7 separate regions of the Homo sapiens genome follow, and regions 1, 2, 3, 4, 5 and 7 are each linked to region 6. Evidence: promoter capture Hi-C in 16 types of primary human blood cells and fetal thymus (Javierre and others, 2016). All regions are on one chromosome and are shown on one strand. Each heading gives the region's core, a stretch centred on a gene start or on the middle of the fragment in contact. The rest is flanking DNA. Distances are from core to core; before and after follow the strand shown.

Region 1 (4,213 bases), core at 967-3,466, 170 kb after region 6:
TCATATCGCCAGGTGTAAAGCAGCTCATAGCACGCGGGTGTGTGGAAGTTCACTCTGCGATGCTCACACAACAGCAAATTGCCTGAGGACCCATTTCTCAGAAGGTATCCTTGTCCTTAAGCAACACATGACTGACATTTGTAAAAGGGGCAAGAGACAGCTTGTGCTTCTCAGAAAAGGTGCCCATTTTCAACTGGTTTAGGAAATTTAGAAAGAGGGAGGAGGAGTATTAAAGTGGCTAAGAGTGTTTCTTTCCAGTTGGTTGATTCTGCACCTCACACACCTAAGGAGTCTGGGAAACATCCTGGGTAGCAGTGGTGGAGAGTGGTCGTAATTTACATTGAAATGGGGATCACCACTGCATATACAGATGGCCTTGCTAGGTGCTGAGGAAGCTCTGATGCCCCCGCGAGGATCAAACATGAGTCGTGGAGACAGGACATGGTGACATGTAGGAGAACACAGTTGAATGCCAGGTAAGCCCCACGTGGGCCTCATGGGTTCAGAGGCTTTTTTCAGAATTACTTCCAGTAGAACGGTTGCCCGTCACAGGGAGCATATCCAAGAGGGCGTGTGTGTGAAGCTGGAAAAGTGGCTTGTACTGGGAATGGGGTGTCTCATATCTCTATAGAGAGACCGCAGGGAGCTGAGGACTGAAGGAGAGGTTAGAGCAGCTCAGGCTCAAGCCCTCTTCCCCAGAATCACCAGGAACTTGCCAGGGAGGCTTTTGTTGCTGTTGTTGCAAAATCCAATTGCAATTACAACAATAAGTGAGGAATTAAACTACAAGTATGAATAGCATGGGCAGCTTAATTCTTAATAAGAAAGCCTAAGGTGCTTTCAACTAAACCACTTTCTGAAGTTTTTTTTTTACCAAAAATAAATTATATCCCAAAATTTATAAGAAAAGGTACAAGATAAAAAAGTGCCCCCTTTTAGAGCTAAAGTTGTCAAGCTGCAGATATTTGATTGATTTGTCCGTGAGAGGGTGGGAGGGAAGAAGCCTCCTTATGTGAAGCCGTCTCAGAATTTCTACTCCCAGACCCACATGCGGATGTGGAAAGCCAAACATGTGATTTCAGGCAAATACATTAAAGAGTAAGAGATAGAAAAGTATGTAATTGGATGTATCATTATGATATTTTCCACTGTCAGCAAAAGGAAAAAGATATTGATTGTTCACACGCGCAAAGAGAATCTCACAAACACACTCTTCCTGCAGCCAATGTCCATTTAATCATTGTGATAATGCAGCTACCTAGATTTTTACTCTCCACAGATCCATTAGGTTTAAAAGCTCTTAAAACTTTGATTCTCTACTGAAAAATGGAATGCTTTCTTTCTGGCCATTATAAAATATACTTTGCAGTAGTTTGTGCTGATTCCAACCGTCCATCTTTACAGTTGTTAAATCAGGTTTAGACTAAGCTGCCTCCTTACATATTTTAAGTTTAGCCTGAAGGTTTTTCGGTATATCATGAACTATAACAAGCGGAGGTGTAAATGAACTGTATACTGCTCTTGCGCCAATCACTCAGTTTGGGCCAATAAAACGCAGCCAACTGTTTGAATCATGTTCAAATAACGCAAACGATGTTCAAATACCACAAACGCCGAGCTGTACCCCATCCAGCTGTTTCTGCACCTCACTTCCATTTTCTATACGTCACTTTCCTTTTTCTATCCATAAATCTTCCTCCATGTGGCTGCGCTGGAGTCTCTGAGCCTACTCTGGCTCAGAAGGCTGGCTGATTCATGAATCGTTCATTGATCAATTAAAGTCCCTTTCATTTAATTTGGCTGAAGTTTTTCTTTTATCTCACTTGCATTTTTTTCTTTTGAGACAAAGAAAAACAATTATTAACAAGCCAGAATAGAAGTTTCGCATTGTCAAAGTGCATGTGCAGTCCATTCATTTTTTCTTGTTATTGTTAGTCATCTTATAAATACAGAACCACAAACTTCACTTCCTTTCGTAGAATATACCTCTTTCGGCTCTGGGAATTACAAACCCTTTACAATTTTACCAGTTTCGGAAAAAAACCAATAGGTTTCTTATCAGAAACTGTGTTCTCTCCCCAGATGCCACTCTTTGCATTTAAATAACTGAAATTGAGGACTTTGATACCACAAACATCAAAGCTCTCTGTTGACTGCAGGGTCCACTCTCAAATGCACCTTAATCCCATTTGAGCACCCCAATTCTTAAAGGCAGGGTATTGTGGTTTCTGAATTCACCATGGCTGTCTTTTTATGGAAGTTCACAGACAGGAGTAATCTTTGAATAGCAGTAATCTAGAGGTGGCGACATATGACTTCTTCATGTCTTTGGCAACTTTGTTTAATTTTTTTAAAGTTGCTAGTCTCTTTTTCTTAATGAACGGTCCTTGTTTCATGTTCGTGGCCATTTTCATGGTCAGCCGTCTGGGCAAGCTGCTTTTTCTCTTCTTGTGGTATCACTCCTCCTCTCCTTACTGCTCAGCTGTAGTTTCACACAACGAGCTAAGTGGAGCTCGTGGGGTCACTTACAGGAAACAAGGAGCATGACTCGCACCCATGAAGTTAGAAATGGCACACGGGGAGGGGAGATAGAGCAGATCCGTGCACAGCACTCATGTGTAAAATATGCCTGCACCACTGTCTGCTTTGCGTTTGAGTTCAAAACAAAAGGCTTCCGTGAAATATAATAAGCTATATATATTTTTCAGAGTGACAAGAATTGTCTCGCTTCCCTTCAGTTCCCAGACTTCTCCAAAGTTAGTCTAATGTCATGACATTGCCTGGGGAGGCCAGAGGCTGGCCTCAGAGACGAGAAAGCAGGTAGCTTGGCTTGGGCTTGTTTCTTAAGGGTCTAGGTGCCTACAGCGTAGAAATTCAGCATTTGCAGAGCACCGAGGTGAGGGGCTGGGGGACGGCAGAGCCTAGGACTTGCAATAATGCAAACTCAAGACTGCTGATTCAAGTCAAGCAGGCTAGAGAAGGGGAAGGCTGAATTTCTTCAGCAACTGGAACTGAGCTACGTGCATTCAGTTTCTCTCAACACATTCTGCTCTGAATCAAACTGTATTTTAAACTTCAACACATTCTGCTCTGAATCAAACTATATTTAAAACTATTTTAAACTATATATTAAAGCCGTTTTAAACTATATTTTAAAACTTACGTTAAAGTTCCTGGGTGTGATTATAATATTGTGGTTTTGTAGGAGAATGTCCTTGTTGTTAGGAAACATCCAGAAATTTTTAAATATGGCCTGTGCAACTTACTTTCAAGTGGTTTCTAAAACAAAGAGAGAGGGGCAGAGAGAGTGCAAATACGGCCAATGTTAATAATTCATCAATCTACAGTGAAGGTCAAACAGCGGTTCTTTGTACTATTCTTTTATCTTTTTTGTGAGTTTGAAATATTTAAAAAAATTGGGGAAAATACTTAGGAATAACTGTAACAAAAATACAGGACCTATATGAATCAATGTACAATATAATATTTAAGGATATAAAATGCAACCCAAATTCATGAAAAGATTATATATGATTAGAGAAGTGCAGATATGTGAGATAATTTTTTCTGGTGTTCATATTTTTAAAATCTCACACACTTTTATATATTAGGACATTAAATTGTAGCAAAGAAAATACAGACCATTTACTCATTCATTCTGCCTCTCTCCGTTTGCTCAATGAACGCTGACTCATCACTCGGGCTCACACAGCGGCTCAGCCCCTGGCCCCGGCTCCAGTTCCCCATTCTGTGTGGGCAGGACAGAAGCGGGAAGCGGGAAGCGAGCGGGGGTGCAGGCGGGGGGACATGAATCGGAACAACCGTGGCTGTCAAAGATGCCGGTGCATCCATCTCACTACTCCAGGCTAAGAAGGGACAGACTCAGAAGCTGGGGAGAGGGTTGTGAGGGCCGTGACTCTGGAGATAACCATATCTGCAGGGCTGCTCGGGGTCCACACAGGAGCTCCTCACTTCCTGCTGGTGCTGTGCTGCACTGTTCCCAAAGTGATGGAGCAAGAGAATTTGGCCTGGTCCTACTGTGTGCTGTTGCTGTGTGACCCTAGGCATGTTGCTTCACGTCTCTGGGGCTCAGTCTCCACCTGCAAAATGAGGTGGGTAGGACCAACTACCTCTCCAAGGTGCCTCCAGCGCTGGTGTTCTATGATGGGCTGCCCTGTTTCTTCCAGTCTGGTCATTTCTTGCAGATTAAACC
Region 2 (4,293 bases), core at 388-2,887, 190 kb before region 6:
GATGTACTTAAACTATACAAATGGTTTAATATTAAACAATTTAAAGTTATAAAAATACCAGTTATAAGGAGAAAACTTTTTCTGAAATAATTGTATTTTTGCAGGAATGGTATATGCGTATTTTCAGGAAACTAGGAAGTGTTTTCCTTCTTAATCATAAATTCATAGTCCTAAAAACCTTCAAGAGTAAGTGAAATGTAACAGTTTAAAGCATTCTTTTTTATACTTTAAAAATGTACATTTTAATATAAATTAGAAGTTTTTATATGTATTTTTAATGTGACGCTAAGTTTGGGCCCCTTTATTTTTCTCTTTAAAGTATGTTAGAAAATTCATATTTTGATATTCATTTCCTGAATTCCACAATTGATAGAAGTGACAACTGTATAAACTTCAAAGGAAAATGTCATAAATCACTAGAACATCCACACAAACATTTTTATATGAAAAAAAGTCAATTAGAAAAAAATACTTTCTTCACTGTATTTTTTTTCTCTGTCACATTTTTTTGGTAACACAGTGGATTTTATAAGTCTTCTTATCTTAGCTTTAATATTTTCAAAAATACAAATGTATGCACAGCATTTATTTAGCACAGTGGCCAAAACATAGTAAGTCTTCAAAAAAACTTCTGTTGCACTAAAAAATCTGTTCAAATGATTTATTTTCTATTTATCTAAGACCTACCAGCTAGAATTTGTGGGGATCTGGAGAGAGAGATGATAGTGTGTCACGTCCAGGGGCACACGGTAGGAGGGCCTCAGTCAGATCAAGCCTTTTCTTACCACACAATCACTATTTACCTCCTCTGCTTAGCGTTTTTTTGCTATAGTTTTGTTGTTTATTTATCTATTGGTTTATTTTCTGCCTCCACCACCAGAATGTAAACATCTTGAGAGCAGGGCCTTAGATATTATTCATCACTTTATCCCCCGGGCCTGCAATTCCTCACATGCGGGAGGGAGCTCAATAAATACCTGTTAAATGTTATTGAATAGTTTGCATTATCAGAGACACCAAAATGTTACTTTAATTTGGAAATATGTTTTATATTAGCACCTGAAAACAACTCCATAGGCTTTTAATATTCTATTAAGTTATAAAGTAAAAAATATATTTTTTAGTGTCAGTCACTTACTACATGTGGTGGGAGTTATTTGTGGAAGGTCCAATGACTGTGGGGAACATGGAGATATATTTACTTCTTATCCCTGAGAAAACAGCAGTCTTTGGTGGAGATAGGCAATACCTAGCTGTTAATGAACTACAGACTCTAGAATGTGAAGTCGATTAAATTATATACATAAATTATATACATTCTCACTGCTGTCAGAGGGCAGAAAAGATAGGTAGCACTTTAGGTAGATAAGAGGAAGAGGTGACCTTGTGTAATAGCTGTATTTCAAGTGGCATCTTTCAGGATGTGGGTTTAAATGGATGAAGAAGAAAAACTGAGTGAGGCCTTTCCAGTAGAGAGGATAGCAAATAAGGCAGCAAAATGTAAGGTGTATTTTTGTAGGGAGAATATTCAAGTGTCCTATGCACAGTACTGTAAATACTCTGTAAATGCACTTTGAATTCAGTTTATTTTGAAGCTCTTTGAATACTCAGCTAAAGAGTGGTGTTTTAGACTAACAAGGTAAATTTTACCTCTTCAAGCCAATGTCCTTACTAACATGCTTGGCAACATGGAATTCTATTCCTAAAGGCTTTTGTGATCCATTTTAGAAAAATTGTTTCCTAATTCTCAGCATAATTTGGATTGGAAAACATCGGGGTAGACTTTATCCTGCCGGTTTTCTGGAAGACTTCTCAGATGAGAATCAAAAAAGCAGTATTTGAGTGTGAGACAATAAAGACAATTTCTTGATGGTAGTAGAATGTTCTGGCTTCTGGCATATGAAGTGTGAGGTGAAAAGGATCCACACTAGATGACTGGCATCAAGAAACGCCATAGGGAGTGAAATCCCATGTGTCCAAGAAACAAATGGTGGGATTTGGGGATTTAAGTGTAAAGTGTGGCATTAAGGGAGAAGTCAGAGGAGATTTATGCTACAAAAATGTGTAAGTCAGCTACATTTAAAGAAACAGAAGATTCTGAACTCCATTATCTTTCCTAGTGCCAAAAGTTGTTTTGCAAAATGTGATTTTTCCTGCTACTTTTTGTGTTTATAGCATTATCCTCCCACCACCACCCAATTTTGCTGAACTGAGAATGACTTTTAAAATCTGTTTAGAGAAAATACTTTTTATTTTATTTAATAAATGCCTTATTTAAGAGTGGAGCAATTGAGCAAGAAATAGCCTCAGAGAAGCAGACCATTAAATCAACTAAGCAAGAGTATATAGAGCATGCTATATACTCTGTATATCTCTCCTTTCTTCCCCAGGTAACCCAGGCCTGCACAGTCCCATGTTGGATCTTGATAATGATACACGTCCCTCAGTGTTGGGCCATCTCAGTCAGACAGCGTCCCTGAAGAGGGGCAGCAGCTTTCAGTCTGGTCGAGACGACAGTAAGTATCTCCCTCCACTGCCACTGGGTCTTTTAAATTTGTACTCGTGTAATTTCAAACATTCTTCTCTTGGAAAATTCCCCAATTTGTGTTGATACTGGTGCTAAGTATTATCAGCCATCATCGCTTTTGCTTGTTACAGTAACTACCAGTAATTTAATAATTAAAATATATATTACATTTAAAGGAATGCTATTTGATTTTTAAGTCATTGGGTGCAGGTCAGTGCTTATTAAACATATTTAGTTCAAGTCTAGTTTTACTTTTTCTGTGGTTGAATTTTTTTAAAGTGCCACAGAAAAAAATTCTGTGAGAACTTCATTAAGATGGAATTTGCGATAAAAGTAGTATCAGTATACCTTTTTTGATGAAATTTAAACTTTGGTCTGGAAAGAGGGATTGGCTGTTAATTAACCATAAAATACTTGCTAATAATTTTTCCTAAGATGAAGCATCTAAAATTTTAAGTATGTTGCATTTCTGAACTTTCTGGAGTGGATATTTACCATTTTCCTATTTGAGATACAACATGATCGACTATCAGGCATTCTTGCACCAAATTAGATGCCACTAGTCAGGAGCCATTTGTGATCTCAATAACAGATATAAGAAACCCAAATAGACTAATAGAAATACCTTACATTGTATTAAATTCAGATACCTGTACAGTTGTTTTAAAATGTCTTATATTATTCTTAACAAGCATTGCAGTAGGGAATTTTTCGAAGGTTTTATTAATATAAATGAATGTTCATCATAAGAGCACCTTAAAATTAGATGATTCATTTGTACTAAATGAAAGGCTTCCATAACTGTTGGTATTCCTTCTTCTTGTCCGATTCTCATTCCTCTCCCAGCTCACCAAACATTAGAACAAACAATGTTAGATCAGAACCGTTTGCTCCTACATTCTGTGGGACAGCAGCTAACATTATATAATGTTCAATGTAATTGCACAGAGGAGCTGAGATCTTTTGAAACATTATTCTTGGGAAAGATACCATGTAAGAATCCATTTGCTGCCATATTAAGCTGTGTTAGTCTGTTTGTGTTGCTATAAAGGAACACTGAGGCTGGGTAGTTTATAAAGAAAAGAGGTTTATTGGCTCACAGTTCTGCAGGCTGTACAGGAAGCATTGCGCCGGCATCTGCTACTGGGAGGCCTCAGGAAGCTTCCAGTCATGGCAGAAGGCAAAAGGGGAGCCAGCATGTCGCATGGCAGGAGATGGAGCGAGGGAGAGGATGGAGAGGGAGCGAGGGAGAGGATGGAGAGGGAGCGAGGGAGAGGATGGAGAGGGAGTGAGGGAGAGGATGGAGATGCCAGGCTCTTTTAACCCATTTCCCATTTAGGGAAAAAAGGTGCAGCTCACTGCTGGTGCTCACTTAATTTACATAAACATGTTCTTTGAGGCTGAAGCAAATATCACTGATTTTCAGTGTGAAAACAAAATATAAGAACTGTTCTTGGAATTATTTCTAAACAACTCGTCTCTAATCCTAATGTAATAGAAATGTAAATGGTGTTCCATTAGGATTAGAGACAAGAGTGTTCTCGGGGCACACGGGCAATGGGTGAAACAACTAGATCTTGTGTGAACTCATAGAGCAAGAACTCACTCATTATTGCAAGGACACCAAGCCATTCACGAGGGGCCCGCCCCCATGGCCCTCCTGCAACATTGGGGATCACATTTCAACATGAGATTTGGTGGGGACAAAACATCCAAATCGATCAAAGGCAAATCTTTCAGTGCTTCCATTTTTAGATTTTCTTGTC
Region 3 (4,187 bases), core at 1,207-3,706, 220 kb after region 6:
ATTTTATTGCAAGTAAATGTATTTCAAAATTTGTTACTGGTTTTATAATAAAATAGTGTCAGCCTACTTCATTATCAAGCTGTACTATTTTATTTATGCAGTTTGATGAACTTACAGCAGAGCTGGAAACTATATCTTCAAAAATGTCTATATTTGGCTAAAAAGAATCAAGTTATTCAACAGGAGTTATTATCTATGAAAGAAGTACAACAGAAATGTAAAAAACTTGAGGAGGTTAACAAAATTTTGGAACAAGAAGTAGTGAATCTTAAGACACATGAAAAAAATATGGTAGAATTTGGTGACGTAGAAGAATGTAAATTGCAGTTGGAAGAAAGAGCAGGACAGGAAATAGAAAAATTAGAAGAAATCAATTTACAGGTTAGTTTTTTTAATCAGGTAGGTTTATCTGTAATGTGCTTTCATTTATTTCACTGCAAATTATAATATAGACATACAGTGTTTTGTCTGCCTCTCTTATAGGAATTTGCTTTGTAGAGTTTTAGAAAAAAAGGTGGCACCTGTTTCTTATTTTAAATATTTAAATTTCCATCATGATTATAACTAAGTTGATCTTTCAGAGTAGTGAGTTTCACTATACAGTCATTTGGTTATTAAAACCAGTTAGCATAAGACTATTAGAAAAAGAAAACTCTGATTTAAAATTATATGGTACTTTTGAATTGGTCTTACGCTACATTGTTCAGTTTTTAACATTTCCAATGGATTCTATTATTTTTAAATGATTAGATTACATGAACACTAACAAGAATGATTTCAAATTTTTATAATTCATATTTAATTCTGAATTCTGTTATCAATTTAGATGAAATTGCTAATAGATGTTTTAAACTTCAGCCCCTTTTTAAAACACATATTTAAAATTGCTTTCTGAATCACTGACTCAAAATGAAAGGCAACAAATAGAGACTAATTAGGTTATAATTGTTTTAAAAGTATGATTTTTTATTTGTTTTAGAAACAAGCAGAATATGAAAAACACAGCAGTTAAAAGAGAATAATATGGCTTTGATGAATAAAAGAGAACTCTGACTGAAAGACGTGGAATGTCAATTCTCCAAAATGAAAACCGCTTATGAAGAGCTTACTACGGAATTAGAAGAATATAAGGAAGTCTTTGCAATAACATTAAAAGCTAACAAATCCATGTCAAAAAATTTAAAGAAATAAGTCAAAACATACACTTGTAGAAAATCAATCAAGTTCATTAATTTGCCATGAAAGCATAATTTTTAGTGAGACAACTTCATGAGATTAGTAGGAAGTGAAAGCTATCCTGATAGTATAATTTTTGAAAATAATGCTAGTAAATAAACTTACATTTAAAATGTTAGTCAAGGACAGTTTCTGTCTCTTCCCTCATTTTTTTTTTAACTTTTGTATGGCCTTTTCCCCTGAAAAATCTTACGTAGTTAACCTAGTCTATTAGTCTTTTAGCATTTTTGAAGCTTTATGGTCAATAAAGTGATCTTGCTGTAAAATTACTTTTCAGAATTCTTCTAAATGGAAATATTAATGAATTTAATTTGTTTTTTAGTAGGTCACAATCTAAACTCAAAGTGCCCAAACTACTACTATTCTGGGCACGTCCTGGCATTTAGTAACTTAACTTTCCTGATTGTGATTTTTAGTATTATCACTAGAGGGCGCTTTGAGACAAACTTTTCTGTATAGTTTTTTCAGTCTACAGGAAGACATGCTTGTGAAATAGGGAATGATTATCCTAGGGATGAAAGAAAGTGTAATTTACAAAGTTGTTTAAAAATAACACCTTGGTCAGCCTGAAGGGGTGTGTGGAAGACAGAAAGGGCAAGCCCCACCTCCAGTGCCTTGGTCACAATGCTAAGGGCTGATTGCCTTCAGAGATGCTTTAGTTCTTTTTGATCACCAATCCAACCATCTAGTTCTCTCCTAGGAGTTCTTGCTCTGAATTATTTCTCAGTGTGAAATGCTTATTTTTTCCTAGATAATGGGTGAAATGTACAAGGGTGGTGAAAACAAATGTTTGAAAATATATTTAGGAGTGATTTCTAAAATCCTGAAACTGGTTTCTAAATACAAGTATTTCTAGCTTCTGTTTTTGTTTGTTTTTGTTTTTGTTTTAGTTTTCTTAATTGTATATTATTTAAGGCATACAACACGTTACTATATGTTTATTCATAGTGAAGTTGTTCTTATAGTCAAGCAAATTAACATATCATCTCACATAGTTACCTTTAAATACAAGTATTTCTTTTTTTTTTTTTAATTTTCCCGAGATGGAGTCTTGCTTTGTTGCCCAGGCTGGCGTGCAGTGGCGCAATCTCAGCTCACTGCAACCTCCGCCTCCCAGGTTCAAGCAATTCTTCTGCCTCAGCCTCCCAAGTAGCTAGGATTACAGGCGCCCACCACTGCACCTGGCTAATTTTTGTATTTTTAGTAGAGGCAGGTTCTCACCATGTTGGCCAGGCTGGTCTCGAACTCCTGACCCGGTGATCTGCCCGCCTCAGCCTCCCAAAGTGCTGGGATTACAGATATGAGCCACTGTGCCCAGCCTGAATACAAGTATTTCTAATGGCATCCTCAGAATCTTATAAGTACAGCCTTCTAGAAGGTAGCAAGCATTACCTATTGAGCCGTACATCGATAGCCATTTCTCTCTCCTTCCTACTTTGTTTGAATTACTTATTCACTAGAAATCTTCTTAGAAACATATGTGATTTTTTAAGAACGATTTTAAAATTATACTTGCTTATAACAGGTATGCTCTCACACATTTGGTGTTAAAACAGTTTAGTGGGTAATTTTGTTTGCTGTCAGGGCAATTTTTTAAAAATTGCAAATCATTTAGGAATCATTTAAGGAAAAATAAAATACTAGGCATTTGTTTTTTGCTATCTGTACAGATCAAATGAGATAATAGCAATGGTCAGCAGCAAGCTCCATATAGAGAAAGAGCAAATGAAATCTGTTCCCACCACTCTGCCTATGAGGCCAGACCCAGAGCCACCCTGGGTTGGAAATCTTAATAGTATAGGTCACAACAGAAAATATATTCCAAAACACCCATAAGGATCCCTACTTCAAGCCCATAGACTTCGAATAACAGCATGAACTGCTTGACTGAGGTTAGTTATATTACCTTTTCCCTTTTGGGTTTTGTTTTTCTAATATACTTCTTGTTTTTAATTTGGTGAAATACTGAGTCGTTCAATTGACTTATGCTTGTTAAGTGAAGGTCATAATTAGCTAATGCAGAAAGCAAATGGGAACTTTACGGTTTTTATAAGTCCTGGGAGCTCTCATTTTCAAGAGATACTTATTTGTTAACTTGATTCAATAAATGTAACTAAACTGACACATTTTAAATTGATTGAAAAACTGCATTTAAGTTAGGTTTTAGAAATTGCATGTTATTGCCTAATAACTAAAGGTAAGCTTTTTTTTTTTTTTTTGAGACAGAGTCTCACTCTGTCGCCCAGGCTGGAGTGTGGTGATGCAACCTCGGCTCACAGTGGTGCGATCTCGGCTCACTGCAACCTCTGCCTGCTGCATTCAAGCAATTCTCCTGCGTCAGCCTCCCAAGTAGCTGAGACTACAGGTGTGTGCCACCATGCTCGGCTAATTTTTTGTATTTTTAGTAGAGACGAAGTTTCACCATGCTGGTCAGGCTGGTCGCGAACTCCTGACCTCGTGATCCCCCTGCTTCAGCCTCCCAAAGTGCTGGGATTACAGGAATGAGCCACCGCGCTCAGCCACTTTGGCTTACTTTCTGATTGATTGTAGTTTTGGCTGCGGTTCATACCACTTTTAAAGTTTCTTTGCACTATCTCAAGTTTTCCATCCCTAATCACAGGGAAGCGGTGGGCATCCAAGCACTTAACCACATACGGATGTTTATTATTTAATGGAATCCAAAATAAACATCAAACACTAAAATATTTCTTTCCATTTTTATGTTAAAAGCTTTGTGGTTTTCTTTCTTTTTTTTTTTTTTTTTTGAGATGGAGTCTCCCTCTGTTGCCCAGGCTGGAGTGCAGTGAAGTGATCTTGGCTCACTGCAAGCTCCGCCTCCTGGGTTCACGCTATTCTCCTGCTGCAGCCTCCGGAGTAGCTGGGACTACAGGTGCCTGCCACCATGCCCGGCTAACTTTTTTGTATTTTTAGTAGAGACGGGGTTTCACCGT
Region 4 (3,881 bases), core at 1,344-3,843, 170 kb before region 6:
TCAATTCAGTAACTCTGAGCCATAAAACAGGGATTGGCTTCAGGTCCTTCTTCAGGTCAGTGCCTCGGGTACACGTGGTCAGCCAGTGTGTGCTTCCCTGGAAGCCTCCAGACCTCGTTTGCCTGATTGTAGTATATCAGCCTCTGTGAAAATGCTCTGAAATAGTTACTTCAGAAGCTTCTTTGTAGTTTATTTTTAAACTTTAAGTAGTGCAACTGCAACCATAAAATAACTGATTTCATGTTTGATCTCTCACACAAGCCACATAACTATCTGCAGGGACGAAAGAACTGACCCCCAGTGCACCTTGCGAATGAATGAGCCCTAGGAAATAGCACGTCTGGAGTCAGCCAAGACATTGTCTAGCCAGAGGTCCTTGAAGAAGTGTCCTACCACGATAGACCTGATAACACTGAGTCAGTTTTTTAGCTATTCCGCGTGGACCTCTTAAGAGAAAACGTGAATCAATGTTTAGAAAATCCCATTTTTCTAAACATTAGATATCCCTTAATGGGATAATCCCATTGCTTATCCCATTGAGGACATCAAGGTCAAGCACTGCCTCACTATGACTGTCCCTCGGCTGAGGCATTCTCTCTGATTAGAGCTTTGCTTCAGAGCTCAGAAACAGCTCACTCGAAAGCATCCTGTTTTCTTCTCATGCTGAAAATGGTTTCTGCCTCTTTTCAATTTGGATAATTCTGAGATTCTGAGAATTTTCTTCTTTCAGAAGAACTGGAATGATTTGTGATAACTTTTGACAGTCATCTAAATTGGATGACTCACTGACAATACACAGAGACAGAACTATTTCTTTTGAGAAAAAAGAAATAGTGAATGTGTAGACTATCACCTACTCCCGGTTCAACTGAAAGCACTCATTGAACTTTCTAGTATTCTGTTTCTACTTATTATATTAGTGTGGGTATAAAAATAAAATTAATAAGAAAGTTGAGTCCAAATTTTAATAGAAGAAATCTAAACAACCACACATGAACATCAACATTTACTTATTTTTTTTTTAATTTTTAATTTTTTTGAGCCGGAGTCTCGCCTGTCACCCAGGCTGGAGTGCAGTGGCATGATCTCGGCTTACTGCAACATCTGCCTCCCTGGTTCAAGTGATTCTCCTGCCTCAGCCTCCTGAGTACCTAGGACTACAGGCACGCACCACCACACCCAGCTAATTTTTTGTATTTTTAGTAGAGATGGGGTTTCATCATGTTGGCCAGGCTGGTCTCGAACTTCTGACCTCAAGCAATCCACCCGCCTCAGCCTCCCAAAGTGCCGGGATTACGAGCGTGAGCCATCGCACCTGGCCAAACATCAACATTTAATGGCCCACGGTTGAATTTCAGATTCGATTGTCAATATTATAGTAATAATTATCATTGTAACATCTTAAATTTTCATACCTTCTGAGGTGGGTAGGTTAGATGAGTAAGGTCAGTAACCTAACAAACATTTTGCCTCTTTAAATGCTTTCTGTGCAGTTGGTATTTCATCCTCTATTTCTTATTTTATTACTGTTTTTGTACTTTCACTTTTAAGTATTCTTTATAATGCCCTCTGGTGGTTTCAAAGTGCAGAAATAACATGACATTAAAGCTGAGGCACTGTTTTAGCTTTCATTAAGTCTGGGTTCCTTTCCATAAGAAAATAAACTTGTCTTTTTAAAAGATGTATATAGATGTCACTTCCTTTCTTCTCTTCAGTTTTTTTCCCAAACTCTTTTAAAAATTAATGCATGTGTTGAAGAGAGGTTCTCAGTCCCAGTGTTTTGCACACAACTGCTTGGTTGAGCCTTGAGCCTTCCATGTCTCGCTGCTCCGGATGAAGCCCGGCCGCCTACCCCATCTCTCAAGACCTGTGCTCATGTTTGGTGGTTCTGACACGCTGCTCTTGTCTCGCTGCTCCGGATGAAGCCTGGCCTCCTACCCCATCTCTCAAGACTTGTGCTCATGTTTGTTGGTTGTGACACGCTGCTCTTCCTGTGCTCCTGCTTTCCCAGTGGTTTCTTGCCCACTCTGCGGGGTGGGTACACTGTCGTCCTCTGAGAACTTGCTCCTCTCCTTCCCTGTTCCTTCAAAGGGCTGGTCCCTCTTCCCCTTCCCGTCTCAGCATCAATGTTCTCACAGTCTTGGGGGCCTTCTATGACCATCCTATTTACAGCCGATCCCCCATCATGATTGTTCTCTCAGTTCTTCTTCTTTTCTTTTTTTTTTTTTTTTTTGAGATGAAGTCTCTCTCTGTCACCCAGGCTGGAGTGCAGTGGCGCAATCTTGGCTCACTGCAACCTCCGCCTCCTAGGTTCAAGCGATTCTCCTGTCTCAGCCTCCCGAGTAGCTGGGACTACAGGCGCGTGCCACCACGCCTGGCTAATTTTTGTATTTTTAGTAGAGATGGGTTTTCACCATGTTGGCCAGGACGGTCTCAATCTCTTGACCTCGTGATCCGCCCACCGCAGCCTCCCAAAATGCTGGGATTACAGGCGTGAGCCACTGCGCCCGGCCAAATTCTACTTCTTTTATTCATGACACTTACTATTTTAATTATTTTATTTCTATACTTTTTTAAACCATTTTGTCAACTTTGACTTTCATGATCGTGTCTTCTGCCTGAAATATACACATAATGAGAATTCTGTCTTACTTATTCCTGTATCTTCCTTAACCTAGAGTAGTTCCTGGCACAAAGTGAAAACTTAAACACCCTTAGGAGCTAAGATTCATTCTAGCTTGTCTTGAAATGCCATTGGTTGGGCATATTTTCAGGTTTCATTTTCTGACTTAATGTAGATAGAAAATGACTGTTTACAATCTATCTGATATAAAGATCCTGTACATCCTCTAGGTCATTATTATTATCATTAAATTTTGTTTAACAGTTCCAGAGATGTGGAAGATCTAGGAGACTCAGCTCATCCCAGAATATCCTTCAGAATTAGCATTCAAAATATAAACTCATTATATCTGCTCCTCGTTGTATATTGGCCTCTTAGAAGAGTAGAATTTTGAAGAAAATTTTTAGTCATATCTGAGTTTTATTGTAGTTGAATTAGATATACTTTGGAGTCTCAAGATTGATTCATTCTAAAATACGAAGTACAAAACATATGCCAAACCTCTGAAACTCAATGACTAGGAGATGACTTTTCAGATCGTGTGTCTGTTCCATTCCATTAATCTGGAAAATGTGGGGCTTGGGGCCATATTCGCTTGTGTTAAACATGTCTTCACAGCCAGTGCTCATTTTTGAGTTTTACAATATGCTGTTTTCCCTTCAGCCATGTCAGTTTGAACAGTGCATCGTGTGTTCTCTGCAGTCACTGAAGGGGGTTCTGGAGTGCAAGCCGGGAGAGGCCAGTGTAAGTATTCCAGCTCCGCTTGGACTCCAGTTTCCCAGGGAGCCTTGGGAATCATAGTTGTAAATTTTTGACTCATCGTACTGCAAGATCTTTTCTCCCTCTTCGCCTGCTTGTTCCATTTAGTTTAACTGCGTAGATGTGCTGATTTCCGATTCCAAGCCAGGCCGATGCAAGTTAAAGTGTGAGTGCAGGTGTTGTAGGTGGAGTGGTTACAGTGATAGCACTTTGTGGACAGCTATTGATGGGCCTGGCTCTTGACCATCAGCCCAGGACTGCGTTGTCTTCTCCAGCCCAAGTCACTACAGTAAGGAACACCTCCCAGTAGGCCCACTCTTCGCACGCCTCCTTTTATAGGAAGGGCACCACTCCTGCAGCAGCGTTCCACGTTTTAACTGTTCATATCTAACTTCATATACAAAAACCTTTTCTTAGCAAAGTCCAAAAATTTTCATCAAAATTCTTCCTTACAGGTCTTCCAACAACCTAAAACACAGGAGGAGGTTTGCCAGCTAAG
Region 5 (4,296 bases), core at 232-2,731, 150 kb after region 6:
CAAGGGTCAACTGTAGATATATAGATTTATAGGCATCACTCACATTTTCTTTCACGTTTCAAAATCCTTCACAATTTTTCATGACAAGTGAGTAAAGCAGGTCCCAGATACTATAGGATGCATCAGTCTTGGTCGTTTTACTATTAATTGAAACATATATTCCTCCTCCATTGCTCAGGGATGAGATAGCACTTTCCTTTAGAGCATTTTTTAAAAGATGCCCAAGGTGGATTATTCTAGCTGGGCGGTAGCTTGAGTGTGTGCAACAGTGGGGGCACTGTGAGGCTATTTGGAGGGAGTGGCGGTCACCAGAGAGAAGTTTCAGTGCAGCTGTGCACATGTCGACCAGAGCAGAGGGAGTGCTGTGCAGAGAGAGAAAAGTTAGCTGAGAAGGAGGAAAACTGATCTTGCTAATGACTGTGCCCTTAACCCGTGGCTTGTCTCCAATTTCAGAAGCAACAAATCCAAGAGTTTGTGCAGACAAGAAATGCTGCAGACTAGTCTCCCATGAAAAGGTGGGAGGTGAGGGAGGGATGAGAGGATGCTCTCTTTTATATATGTGATCTCTGCCCATCCTCACAGTAGCCCTGGGCAATCCTTATTCTAGAGAGAAGGAAACAGAGGTTCTGGGAACTCAGGATGCCACGAAGAGGCAGGATGTGCCCGCAGCTCATCTGGTTCTGATGCAAGCCGACTTTGCCCTCTGGCACAGGAAGCACAGGGTGCCTGGGACCCAGGCTGCATTCGGAAGCCTCAGAAATGCTTAATCTTGGCCGGGTGCAGTGGCTCAAGCCTGTAAATCTCAGCACTTTGAGAGGCCAAGGCGGGCGGATCACCTGAGGTCGGGAGTTAGAGACCAGCCTGACCAACATGGAGAAACCCCGACTCTATTAAAAATACAAAATTAGCCGGGCGCGGTGGTACACGCTTGTAATCCCAGCTACTCAGGAGGCTGAGGCAGGAGAATCGCTTGAACCTGGGAGGCAGAGGTTGCAGTGAGCTGAGATCGCACCACTGCACTCCAGCCTGGGCAACAAGAGCGAAACTCCGTCCCAAAAAAGAAAAAAAAAAAAAAAAGCTTAATCTTTATTCCTTTTAAAATCAGAAGAAAAATATACATAATAATCATGAATATATAATAATGAATCCCATCTCAATTACATCTGTCATTTTATCAGCGCAGCAGTAAAATACTTTTAAATATTTTTTATAGAGGAAGTTGCCCACAGGAGCGATGGTACCTCGGCTGCATCTCAGAGGTTCCGCCTGCCTATTCTGGAGCGCATGCCCTGGACCTGGTACCAGCCCCAGGTTTCCAGGAGTGGGAAACTGCTCGTCTACTCTACTCAGGTCATATTGATTTTCCTTGATTCCCTGCTCTGGAAAACACAGCTCCTGGAACTTGGTCCAAGAATAGGAATAGTTGGTCTGTCTTTAATGTTACTATTTTTTAACTCCTAGTCAAGTGCCACAGGGAAACAAGAAAAATGGGGCTATGGGATTGACTAAGGGAGTTTAACAAATGGCCTTTAAAATGACAAAGTGAGCTGGGCTCTGGAATGACAACAGTGGTAAGTTGGGAAGGCATCCCGCTGAGGCTCCTTGGCTCCCCAGCACCTGCCTGCTCCCTGGCTCAGTCTGCCTCACTCTCTGCTCTGGGCAAGGGTACCAGCCGAGCACCTCAAGAGCCTAGACCACGTGGAGGCTACATAGAGGTCCCAGGGAGAGGACATTATGTCACTCTTCTGAGATGTGAGCTCAAGAGGATGTTGGAGGCCAGAAGTTCTTGACTGGAGAGGAGGAGACTTAGATTCCTGCCTTGGCTCCCACACTAACTAGTTGTTTAATCCTTCAGTCCAGGCCAATTCATTTCTCTAAGCTTCCGTTTTCTCATCATAAAATGAGAGAGTGGATCATTCCAGCTCTAAGGTTATATGATTCTCAGGAGAAAAATGTGAAAGACAGCAACAGGTTAAAAAATATTTAAATGAGTTCGACGTTTGCCCCAATTTACCAATTGCCAACCACGTCTTCTCCCAAGGATGGCCCTATCAATCAACCCAATTCCAAAAACTGTCATGAGATTTTCCATGAAACTCTGTGTAACTGGGAGAGAATAAAGCACGTGCTAAACACGAATGCAGTGAAAATGGCGTGAGGCCAGGGAGGAACTGGGAAAGTCCAGTGGAATTCCCTGAGGATATGGGCAGGTGCCCGCCAGCGTTGCTGGAAGGGCTGTTTCTGAGGATAGAGGGTTAGTGAGCTGTAGCAGTTTCCAAGGCCAGGAGAGGGAGATTTTATTCAGCAGAAATAAAAGTGCTGGGAGGTGTACAATGACTTTCTTAACTTCATGGAAAGTACCATGGGAGTTCTATGACAGAAGCCAGGCTGTGGCCCTCGTCAAGGGTGGACTCAGAAGGAGGGAAACGATCGATGGCATTGTCAACAGCGTTCATTCTGAAGGCCCTTCATTTAAATTCTGGTAGCCATCAGCTCCTGACACCCAGTGATAACAATACCCTGCACTGGCCCATTGTCTGATTTTGATCTTTCAACAATCCCGAGGCAACTCTGAGATCTTGTAATTTTTGTCCCTCTGGAAGATGAGGGCCCACGTCCCACAGTGGTCAAAGATACACCTATAACCTCGTTCTCCAGCACTAGACCAGCAAGCCGAGTGAGGCGGTTACTTCTCTTCGTAGTTCCACAGTAAGGAGCTATTTCAACTTCATCTAATGAACTGCAGTCTTAGGGATGGACAAAAACCAGCCCTAGAATGACTAACAGGGCTGTGCCTCTGGTGCGTCTTCACTGCCACTCACAGTGGTAACTGCAGCGTATGGACAAGCATCTGCCTCTGACTGAGGAGACATTTATTCATAAAATAAGAGTGTGCCTTTGTGTCTTTTCTTTTCTTTTTTTTTGAGACAGAGTCTAACTCTGTCTCCCAGTGACACGATCTCAGCTCACTGCAACCTCCGCCTCCTGGGTTCAAGCAATTCTCCTGCCTCAGCCTCCCAAGTAGCCGGGACTATAGGTGCACACCACTACGCCAGGCTAATTTTTTTGTATTTTTAGTAGAGATGGGGTTTCACCATGTTGGCCAGGCTGGTCTTGAACTCCCAATCTCAAATGATCCGCCTGCCTCGGCTTCCCCAAGTGCTGGGTATCTTTCCATTTAATAAGTTCTAATGTTTGATAACAGAGCAGTGTGGCTATAGTTAACACAATGTATTATGTATTTCAGAATAGCTACAAGAGAGGACTTGATGTGTACCCAACACGTGGAAATGATCAATATCTTGACTAGATCATCACACATTCTGTGCATGTACCCCACAAATATGTACTAATATAGCGTATCCAAAAAAATTAAAGTCAGCATATTGAAATATCATAAATAAACCAAAGTGAAACTAACTCCCCAAGTTAAATAAATGGATTCTCTTTTGTGTCTCAATTTCTTCAACATCAAACCTTTTTTCATTTTAGTGAAGTATATTCTTCCAGAAATTAATATTGATTAACGTTAATATGTTAATATAATGTATATAGTAAGAACTCCCTCTCCCCTTACTAAGAAACTTCCCAACTACAATTTTCTCTTCAAGATTCTTCATGGTGCACATATCGTTTTAACATGCCACTTCCGTGTGTGTTCAAATCCTTTGTGGGACGATTTTCTTGTCCTTTTCAATTCTCCCTTCCCAGATTTGGTCTCAGGCTTCAACAGCTCCTGTGTTCTTGGATTTCAATGTCGCCAGTGATCATTAAGATCTGTTTGGCTCATGTGCTTGTGGGCCAAGTGATCCATTTTATAGGAAGAACAATGAGGAGGAGCGAGACAGTCAGCAAGAAAGTGGATTTACTGAAACAACACATGGGGCGTGGTGGATCTTTTGTTTGTTTTGGAAGGTTTTGCTTTGTTTTTTGGTGAACTCATTTCGAATTCAGCAAGAGGTATAATCTTTAACTTTCAGCTACAAACAAAACACCTGTCTCATTACCAGCCTGGGTAGGTGTGGAACACAAATGGTTTTTCATTTCTGTGAAGTATTCTTCGAGCTTGTATAGCCAAGAAGGCTTAACACTGTGCTGTTTTCTATTGGGCTTTCTGTGGGAGAAAAAAATTTGATGAAAAGAAAAGAATAGGCCGGGCGCAGTGGCTCACCCCTGTAATCCCAGCACTTTGGGAGGCCGAGGAGGATGGATCACTTGAGGTCAAGAGTTGGGGACCAGCCTGACCAACATGGTGAAACCCCGTCTCTACTAAAAATACAAAAATTAGCTGGACGT
Region 6 (4,311 bases), core at 4-2,503:
TCTTTGAGGCTGCGAAGCGCGCGCGTGCCGTGTCAGGGTCGTCCGGGCCCCCGGAAGAAGGCACCTTCGCGGCCGGCCCGGGCGCATCCCCTGGGCGGGCACAGCCGTCCGCCTTCCGAGCTCGGCCCCCGCGAAGGCTCCTACCCGCCTGCTCTCCTGTAACGCACCCGCAGCCCAAAGGCTCCCGACACGCGCCGCTCGTCTTGCACCCTCTCTCCCCACCCAGCCGCCACCCCTCCTGGCCCTCCTTCCGCACTCACTCGCAGCTCTCGCTTGCCTTCGCTCACTCCCAACCCGCTTCTCGCCCCTTCCCCGCGACTCTGTCAGTTTCCACTCCCCTGGCGGCCTCCACGCGCGGAGGACCTCGCCTGCGGCCGGGCGTTCCAGGGGCGCAGCCCCGGGTTCCTCCACCCTCCGCTTTCTCTGCTCGCATCCAGACCCTTCGCCCCGAATAGGACCCCTATCCCTGCCCAGCTAGCGCGCACTAAGTGGGCTCTGCAAACGACAAGTGGCGCAGACGCGGGGGCTGCAGCCCCAGTACGGGGGATTCCGCGCGCAGAGCGTCCGCCGGACCCCGGAGCAGGCCCGGGAGAGCGGAGGCGGGGAGGGCGCGGGAGAGGGCGACGACAGCTGCGGAGCCTGGGAGGCAGGGACCGCGCCAGGCCGGCTAGGCCACCGCACGCAAGGCTCGGAGCGACCCAAATGTGGAGCTCCTCCTCCTCCTGCGCCAGCGGGTGAGCACCGCGCCGGAGGCCGCCGTGAGCTTGGGCCCCTTAGGAACGAAGAGCAGGGGAAGGAGCCTCGGATTGGGGTCCACAGGGCCGGGCCTGTTTCTCGCAGGCAGTTGTGCCGTCTTGTGTGGGTGCCTTGGACGGCCCCGCCTCAGCCACTCCTGGGGCCCCGACAGTCCGGTTAGCTCATCCCGTCCAGCTTGTGGCGACCCCGTCGCAGGAGCGCGGAGGGCAGGCGGGGAGGCTCGGGCAGAGCCAAGGAGGCGGGCCTTGGAGCCCAAACCAGCGCCTCCGGCTCAGCGCAGATGGGGTGGGAGTCGGAGCTCCAGGACGGGGCGCGCTCCCTTCCCGCTCCGAAGCCGGGGTACCCTGCGCTGCCCTGGAGGTCGAACCTCTGGTTCGCGCTCCGGGTCCTCTCTGGTATCAGCCTCACACCCCTCCTCCTGCCCGACTCCAGCCCTTACCTCGCCCTGGACTCGGAGCTGAGGGCAGCGGTGGGTCCCAAGATCGAGCGGTGAAACTGAGAGTGCGAGGTGGGAAAGAGGAACTTTATAGAACTCTCTGGGGCGGGGCCTGGGGCGGGGCGGGGCGCCGAGGCCTGTGGGGGCCGGGGGTTGGACTGGGGAGAGGGACTTTGCAAGCCGAGAGCCGGGGCCGGCCGGGCGGGCGAGCCTCAGGGCCGGCGTGAAGGCTGGGGGCTGCCGCGGCCGGGGTGGGGTTCCCGCGCCCTTGGCGACCCTCCGCGCGCCGCGCCCGGAGAGCGCACCTCCAGCCGGGCGCGCGCCGCTTCGGGGACTGTCACTGGGGCCGTTTCCCGCGAAGGGCGAGGTGCGAAATGCGAATCTCGCCTTTGCGCCAGGACCTCAGGAGGCCAGTCAATCACTAAACTGCAGCGATGTGGCCAGGGCGGGAAATGGGGGGCGTGTAGTAGCGGGAATCTGGTGCGAAGGGGACTTCGCTTTGCAGAGCGTGTAACGGAAGACGGAGGAATGGTCCAAAGAGAACTGGAGGTGGAGGTTGCGGGAGCACCCTCGGCAAGGCCATCACCGGGAACCCTGCCTCTCCGCGGTGTTTAGAGAACATCGCACTCACTAAAAAGAAAATAGGAAATGGCCCAGCTCCCTTGAGCTATTAAGCTTGATTCAAATACTGTCTCTGCGTGTCTGACATGCTTACATCCTTTTGCATCTATTAGGCTGGTGAATTGAAGTGACTCAGACAATGCCCCGGCCCCGAAGTTTTAATTATCTTAGCATGAAAGAGATGGGGGCGGGGAGAGGCTCCCTAAGGATCCAAGTGCTTAATCACTTCCAGACTTCAGTTCACCTTAAAATGATGTCGTTTTAACCTCAACCTGGAGGAAAGCAGTTTACCAGTGGGGTATAAAAGCCCAAAATAGGCCAGGCGCTGTGGCTCAAGCCTGTAATCCCAGCACTTTGGGAGGCCGAGGCGGTGGATCGCCTGAGGTCAGGAGTTCGAGACCAGCCTGGCCAACACGGTGAAACCCCATCTCTACTAAAAATACAAAAATTAGCCGGGCGTGGCCCCAGCTACTTGAGAGGACGAGCCACGAGAATCGCTTGAACCCGGGAGGCTGAAGTTGCAGTGAGCCGAGGTGGGCGACAGAGCAAGACTCCATCTCAAAATAAATAAATAAAAGCCCAAAATAGGAATAATACTTAAGTGGACCAGGGATTTTACATACTTTTCCAAGATGTCCTTAATCGCAAAATTAACCCCCTGAGCTTTCACCCGTTGAGCTTTCGATCGTCTGAGATGCTGAGTATGTGCATTTACTTCGCATTTTCAGGTAAACCATCAGATCTCTGGTTTCTATATGATTTTAGACCACCACCACCGTAGGTCAACCTGCAACTTTTGAAAAGCTTTTGATTTCACTTATTTCTCAGTTTTTGTTTTAATCTTATATATTGGGTCAATGTCTCCTAACCAAAGAAGAATCTATGTTTAGGCTAGAGCAAAACAGGTAGTGAGGTATGGATAGGTATGCTTTTCCTAAAACCAACAGACGTTCTCAGAAATTAACAGGATGCCATTTTTTATTTCACCCAAGTAAGTTTTCCATTACCAAAGTCTATGTAATAAACAACAGGGTTTTGTTCACAAAAAGTTCTGGTCACAACCTGTTTTTCTTCCTTTCCTTTCACAGATTTATTCACTTGACAAATGTATTTTGAGCACCTGCTACTTGTCAGGAACCGTCCTAGGCACTTGGAACACATCAGTGAACAAAGCAAAGATCGTTGCCTTCTTGTTGCATTATATTTTAATCAGTGTTACCTTTCCCTCAAACGTTCACAAACATACCAGAGAGGAGTTTGCTGAGGACAAAAAATGGCAAATGAGAGCTTTTTGCACTTTCGTATACGTGTCCTCTGCACCGGGTTTAGTCATTTTCAACATACCCTCCCCTCACTCATCCACATCCTCTGCTTTTAGTTCAGAACAACAGTCGTTGTGTGAAACTCTGAGCCTTCACACCACTACCTTGTTTTTAAATGTAATTGCTAATCTTCAACGCCATCTTCTGGTTTACTCATTTGCCATATTGATCCACTAGAAGTTATTTTTCTTAATGATGATGTGAATACAAGTAATAAAACATTTTAATCACTAAAACTCCGGATGGCCTCATTACCCGTCAGGGAGGCAGTGAACAGGTAGCAGCTGGCAGTGGTGACCAAGGACTTTTATATCTTAGTCACGATTGAAACAAAAAACGGCAAAGGTTCTCAAATTGAAAAGCTTCCCCACCAAACTCCCACCCCCTCCACACACTGAGACTTGAGAAAATCGGTATTCCTTAGTAAAAGGCTGGATATTTATCAGTAAATGACACAACTTGTTGACAAGCAGAAACTAATAGGAAACCAGTTCATTGAATGTGTACCCAAAACAAAGGCTGACCGTGATATTCCACGAGGAAGTTACTTATTTAGTGAATTATCCGTATGTTGAGGTTGTAGTCGGCACACCATCTGAATGGAGCATTTCCATTTTCAATTTCACATTTATCGTAAAGAGTCTGCAAGAAAAGCTGAATTTACCTCAATTCAGTATTTTAAAAGCCAATCTTTAAAATTATACATTCACATGCAAGTAAAATATTTCAGAAAAACCCATCCTACACACACAAACACACACACTAGATTCTTAAAATCTTGGATAACACTATTTTCCCACTAATTCACTCTTTAAAGGGGGGGGCTACAATTGGCTAAAAACAATGCAACTGTATCCATAAAGAAATATAAAGGGCAATCATTTTTAATTACCAGAAAAAATCAGGAAAATACTGAAAGTGCTATTTTCATGTAATTTATATAGAATATATGTCTCTTCTAATCCTCTTTGGTTATATGTGTTTGCAAATCTAATTACTGGCCATGACACATTGCATGGCCAAAAGGTAGTATCATTGGGGATTAAATAAGTGCTTGAGTTTTTAAGGCTGTGAGGCCTTGGGAGAGCCATTTAACCAAAGTCCTACTTCTGGGTGTACAAGGAGGGTGGGGGTGTCCCTGCCTCCCAGCAGTGTTTGTTGTGATGATGAAATGAT
Region 7 (4,124 bases), core at 243-2,742, 150 kb before region 6:
TTACATTAGCATAAATAAGATTATATGGTGTGTGTTTTTCTGTGACTTTGTTTTCCCACTCAGTATTATTTTGAGATGTATCCATGTTGTAGCATGTAGGTCATGCTCGTTTGTAACATGAATTAAAGAATATATTCCTTTTTCTTCTTTGAAAGAGTTTGCATAAGATTGGAATTATTTATTCTTTGAATATTTAGAAAAACGCTCTGGTAGTGGTATTTTCCGTATGCCCAGATTTTCTTTGTGAGATGATTGCTAATGACTGGCCCAATTTCTTTAATGGTTATAGAACCATCCAGCTTTTTATTTCTTCATGTTAATCGTAGTCATCTATATTTTTCTAGGACTTTGCCCATTTTGCTTAAATTTTCAAATCTGTTGGCGTAAAATTGTTTTATAACAGTTTTATTACTTCAACCTCAGCTGCGATGTGGTCCTTATTTGTACTTACTATCGCTTGTTTGTATTTTTATTCCTTCAACCTCAGCTGCGATATGGTCATTTTTTGTACTTACTATCGCTTGTTTGTATTTTTATTCTTTGTTTCTTGCCAGAGTCTTTTTCAGAGAATAACTTTTGACTTTAGTAGTGCTCTCTCGTTATATCCTTGCTTTCTCTTGCAGTAATTTGGACTCTAATCTTGTTTATTTACATAGTTCATTAATTCTAAACCTTTCTGTCTTTTAATATGAACATTTAAGGCTGTGAATTTCCCTCTAAGTGTCTTTTTAGCTGTGTTTCCCATGTTTTCGCAAGTGGTATTTTAGTTATTCTTCATTTTTTTTAGTTTTGAATTTTAATATTCTATTTTAGTCTTGGCTAGAAGTATGATTTTAAATTTCCAAGCTAAGGGAGCAGAGGAGCAGTTGGAATTAGTTTTCTCTTTGTTAGAGATTTCTAACATCATTGTTCTGAGGTCAGAGAATATCATGTTTTTAGGTTTGCTGAGGCTTGCTTTGTAAGCTCATATGTGGACAGTTTTCTGAAACCCTACCTCGGTTGAAAAGATCGTGTCCTTACGTTTTGGATACCACATTCCACAGATGTCTATTACATCGGGTTTGTGGATTATGTTGTTCAGTCCTTTTGTTTGTTTGGTTTGGACTTTGATCTCTTGATTACTGAGAAAAATGTAGTAAGGTTTTTCCTTGGCTCCTTTTTAGATACTTTATTTGCCTCTTCTGTTCTGTATTTTTATTATGTGTCTTGGTATTATTATGTTTTTTGGCCTGTTTGTTCCCTTGGCTCTGGTTGATGTCTTTAATCAATTCTGGAAAGTTCTAAGCCATTATCTCTTCAAATATTTTTTCTTCTCCATTCAAACTTTTCTGTCCTTTAAGATCTCCTATTGGGTGTATGTTAGACCTTCTCACTCTATTCTTCACATCTCTTAATTTTTTTCTTTTTTATTCTCCTCATCTTTAATTGTCTGTACTGATTGGGGTAATCTCCTCAGCTCTCTCTTTTTGTTCCTTGTTTCTTCAGTTGTGTCTAATCTTGCTGAAATTTACTGTGTATTGAAATGTTATTTCAGTTGTGTTTCTTCTCCAGAAACTTTGTTTTTTGTTACTAAGTAAGGGGAAATTATTAACTTACTCTGGAATGGTATAATTCAGAAATCAGGGAAGGAGATAGTGGTAGCAGTAAAGTTCTTTCCAGTGTCTTTCCGATTATTCTGTATAGATAGAAAATCAAATCGTCAAGGATAAGATTATCCTATTGAGAACAGTGGAGCAAACAATTGAAGCCTAATATATAGGATGTGAGGTGACTAACTTGATTATTAAAAATTCCTGGCTGGGTGTGGTGGCTCCTGCCTGTAATCCCTGCACTCTGGGAGGCTGAGGTGGGTGGATCACCTAAGGTGAGGAGTTCAAGACGAGCCTGGCCAACATGGTGAAACCCCATCTCTACTAAAAATAAAAAAATTAGCTGGGCATGGTGTGCGCATGTGTGGCTTGGAAGCCCTCGCTAACAAGTCCTGGAGACACAGGCTGTCCTTCTGTTTCAGGTGACAGTATATCCTGTTTCATCTGTAGTTTTCTTTTTTGTGTTAATACTTCTCCTAGGAATTAAGAGGTTTTTTAAAATTAGTTATTTACTTGGCATTTATTTTGCCCCCATTTGACAAGTTGTGGTTCAGTAATATAAAGGAATGTCAGTTTGCCACCTGTCCTGCCATCCATTTGAAAAGAGCTAAAAAAAATTAATTTGTCTGAACCTAGTTATCCAGAGTCACTTGGATAGATGTTCTAATGATAGTTTGATGACCTTATTTCTATACAGATGGCCAAATTGGAATGAAAATAATTGTTTGTTGTTTATTTTCTTTCTTGGAAGCATAATTTTTAAAAAACATTATTATCAAAAAGTTTTTAAAATCACAAATTGGAAATTTTAAATTGGAAACATTAAAATACATCAAAATAATGATGTTATCTTTTAAACCATTGTGACTGTGTTGAAGACAACAGTAAAGAAGTTAGAGAAATTTGACAATCGACTTAGGCATCTCTTCTCCAGGACTGTCCATTGGGAGCACTGGCTGGCATCAGTGCCTGGTGCGTGAGATGGAAATGTTGTTGAGTGTACGTGATTGCTGCTAAGAAAGGCAGGGCGGTGGCTTATTGGGAGCACTGGCTGGCATCAGTGCCGGTGCGTGAGATGGAAATGTTGTTGAGTATATACATGATTGCTGCTAAGGTGGCAGGGCGCTGGCTTATTGGGAGTATTGTCCATTACACCAGAATTCTGCCTCCAGCATACGCCTTTTACTTCTGTAAGTTATTACCCACAGTTTTTTAATGCTTCGAAAGACCCTCCTCAGTGCTAATATGTACGAATTCAGTGAGTAAGTCTATTTCTGAATACAGATATTCCTGAACTTATGATGGGGCTACCTCCAGATAAACCCTTCCAAAATTGAAAATATCGTAAGCGCATTTTCTACTTATGATATTTTCTTTTTTTTTTTTTTCTTCAGACAGAGTCTTGCTCTGTCACCCAGGCTGTAGTGCAGTGGTGTGATCTTGGCTCACTGCAACCTCCGCCTCCCGGGTTCAAGCAATTCCTGCCTCAACCTCCCTAGTAGCTGGGATTACAGGCACCTGTCACCACAGCCGGCTAATTTTCGTATTTTTAGTAGAGACAGGGTTTCACCATCTTGGCCAGGCTGGTCTTGAACTCCTGACCCCGTGATCCACCCGCCTCAGCCTCCCAGCGTGCTAGGATTATAGGCGTGAGCCACTGTGCCCGGCCAGATATTTTCTACTTACAGTGGGTTTAACCTGACGTAGCACATCATAAGCCAGGGAACATACTGAATGCGCATTGCTTTTACACCCTGGTAAAGTGGGAAAATCATGAGTTGAACTCTCATAAGTTGGGACTGTCTGTACACAATTAAATTGTTATCTTTTTTAAAGGAGGCACTGTGTTTTTGTTAGAGACACCTGCCCTAAAAGGCCACTGGACCCTCAGGCATGTCTACTCTGCTGCCTTTCTCACCCCCATCAGTGACCCTTTAGCGCTCCGTCTCTGTTTAACCACTGCATTCCTTAAACACATCACTTTATAAGACTGATTTCCTTAGTGTCAGGATGTTTTTAAAGTTAATCTTTCTTCCTCACTCTCAGATAGCGATTAATGGTAGATGGATCTGACCCTTGCTTTTTGAGCAGGAATCAAGCAGACCCAGTTTTCTATGTTCAGCAGCCAGTGTGAACAGGGTGTTAGTGAAAATGAGGCTGTTGAGTTAATAGAAATAGCTGCTAGCATTTATTATGTATTTGCTTTCAGTGTGCTATGCAAGTTTCCTGAATTATCTGTTTAAATCCTTACAACAAAAAGTATGAGCTGTGTACTCCTGACATTGATCCTGCCTCATCACACATTAATACTGCCATTCTACTCTCTTTTTGTAGCATTTGCCTATTAACTGTTTGCACATCTATTTATTTTCAACTCCTCTTTTCCCTTCTTTTTTTAAAAAATGAGGTGTAATTTACCTACAGTAAAAGACACAAATCTTAAGCTTATGGATTGATGGCTTTTTACATATGCACACGTTCCAGCATCCACCACCAGATGAAAATACAAAACCTTCCCTTGTGCCCTGTTTGAGT

What was found. The method cuts DNA at HindIII sites, captures the fragments that hold promoters and counts their contacts. A CHiCAGO score of 5 or more calls a contact.
Region 1: a fragment that was not itself captured here is called in contact with the fragment with the promoter of IRF4 in region 6 in 10 of 17 cell types (total B cells, naive B cells, activated CD4 T cells and 7 more); the score reaches 20.1 in total B cells.
Region 2: a contact is called between a fragment that was not itself captured here and the fragment with the promoter of IRF4 in region 6, in 1 of 17 cell types (activated CD4 T cells). The highest score is 8.7, in activated CD4 T cells.
Region 3: a fragment that was not itself captured here is called in contact with the fragment with the promoter of IRF4 in region 6 in 11 of 17 cell types (activated CD4 T cells, total B cells, naive B cells and 8 more); the score reaches 14.1 in activated CD4 T cells.
Region 4: a fragment that was not itself captured here is called in contact with the fragment with the promoter of IRF4 in region 6 in 8 of 17 cell types (activated CD4 T cells, naive CD4 T cells, non-activated CD4 T cells and 5 more); the score reaches 30.7 in activated CD4 T cells.
Region 5: a contact is called between a fragment that was not itself captured here and the fragment with the promoter of IRF4 in region 6, in 6 of 17 cell types (total B cells, naive B cells, activated CD4 T cells and 3 more). The highest score is 12.6, in total B cells.
Region 7: a contact is called between a fragment that was not itself captured here and the fragment with the promoter of IRF4 in region 6, in 5 of 17 cell types (activated CD4 T cells, naive CD4 T cells, non-activated CD4 T cells and 2 more). The highest score is 16.1, in activated CD4 T cells.

What each region holds. Positions count from the first base shown.
Region 1 is chr6:219,609-223,821 of GRCh38, reverse strand. No RefSeq gene overlaps it. Among named protein-coding and RNA genes, the nearest start is that of LINC03066, 16 kb to the right of the region's middle. RefSeq lists an enhancer at 2,943-3,022. The HindIII fragment of the contact is 6,117 bases long and covers 1-4,213 here.
Region 2 is chr6:574,980-579,272 of GRCh38, reverse strand. EXOC2 (exocyst complex component 2) reads left to right here. Exons shown (of 28, transcript NM_018303.6): 12 at 2,391-2,516. Among named protein-coding and RNA genes, the nearest start is that of HUS1B, 80 kb to the left of the region's middle. The HindIII fragment of the contact is 4,106 bases long and covers 1-3,690 here.
Region 3 is chr6:166,546-170,732 of GRCh38, reverse strand. It overlaps the pseudogene ANKRD18FP. Among named protein-coding and RNA genes, the nearest start is that of LIRIL2R, 12 kb to the left of the region's middle. The HindIII fragment of the contact is 1,969 bases long and covers 1,472-3,440 here.
Region 4 is chr6:555,970-559,850 of GRCh38, reverse strand. It overlaps EXOC2 (exocyst complex component 2), which reads left to right. Exons shown (of 28, transcript NM_018303.6): 18 at 3,287-3,367; 19 at 3,838-3,881. Among named protein-coding and RNA genes, the nearest start is that of HUS1B, 99 kb to the left of the region's middle. RefSeq lists a silencer at 2,389-2,576. The HindIII fragment of the contact is 4,828 bases long and covers 180-3,881 here.
Region 5 is chr6:237,683-241,978 of GRCh38, reverse strand. No RefSeq gene overlaps it. Among named protein-coding and RNA genes, the nearest start is that of LINC03066, 34 kb to the right of the region's middle. The HindIII fragment of the contact is 801 bases long and covers 1,081-1,881 here.
Region 6 is chr6:388,694-393,004 of GRCh38, reverse strand. IRF4 (interferon regulatory factor 4) reads right to left here and starts at 1,253. Exons shown (of 9, transcript NM_002460.4): 1 at 1,196-1,253. RefSeq lists silencers at 97-206, 317-366, 537-586, 867-936, 1,177-1,566 and an enhancer at 3,234-3,283. The HindIII fragment of the contact is 5,232 bases long and covers 1-1,869 here.
Region 7 is chr6:537,926-542,049 of GRCh38, reverse strand. All of the region lies in intron 22 of EXOC2 (exocyst complex component 2), which reads left to right. Among named protein-coding and RNA genes, the nearest start is that of HUS1B, 120 kb to the left of the region's middle. The HindIII fragment of the contact is 5,087 bases long and covers 1-4,035 here.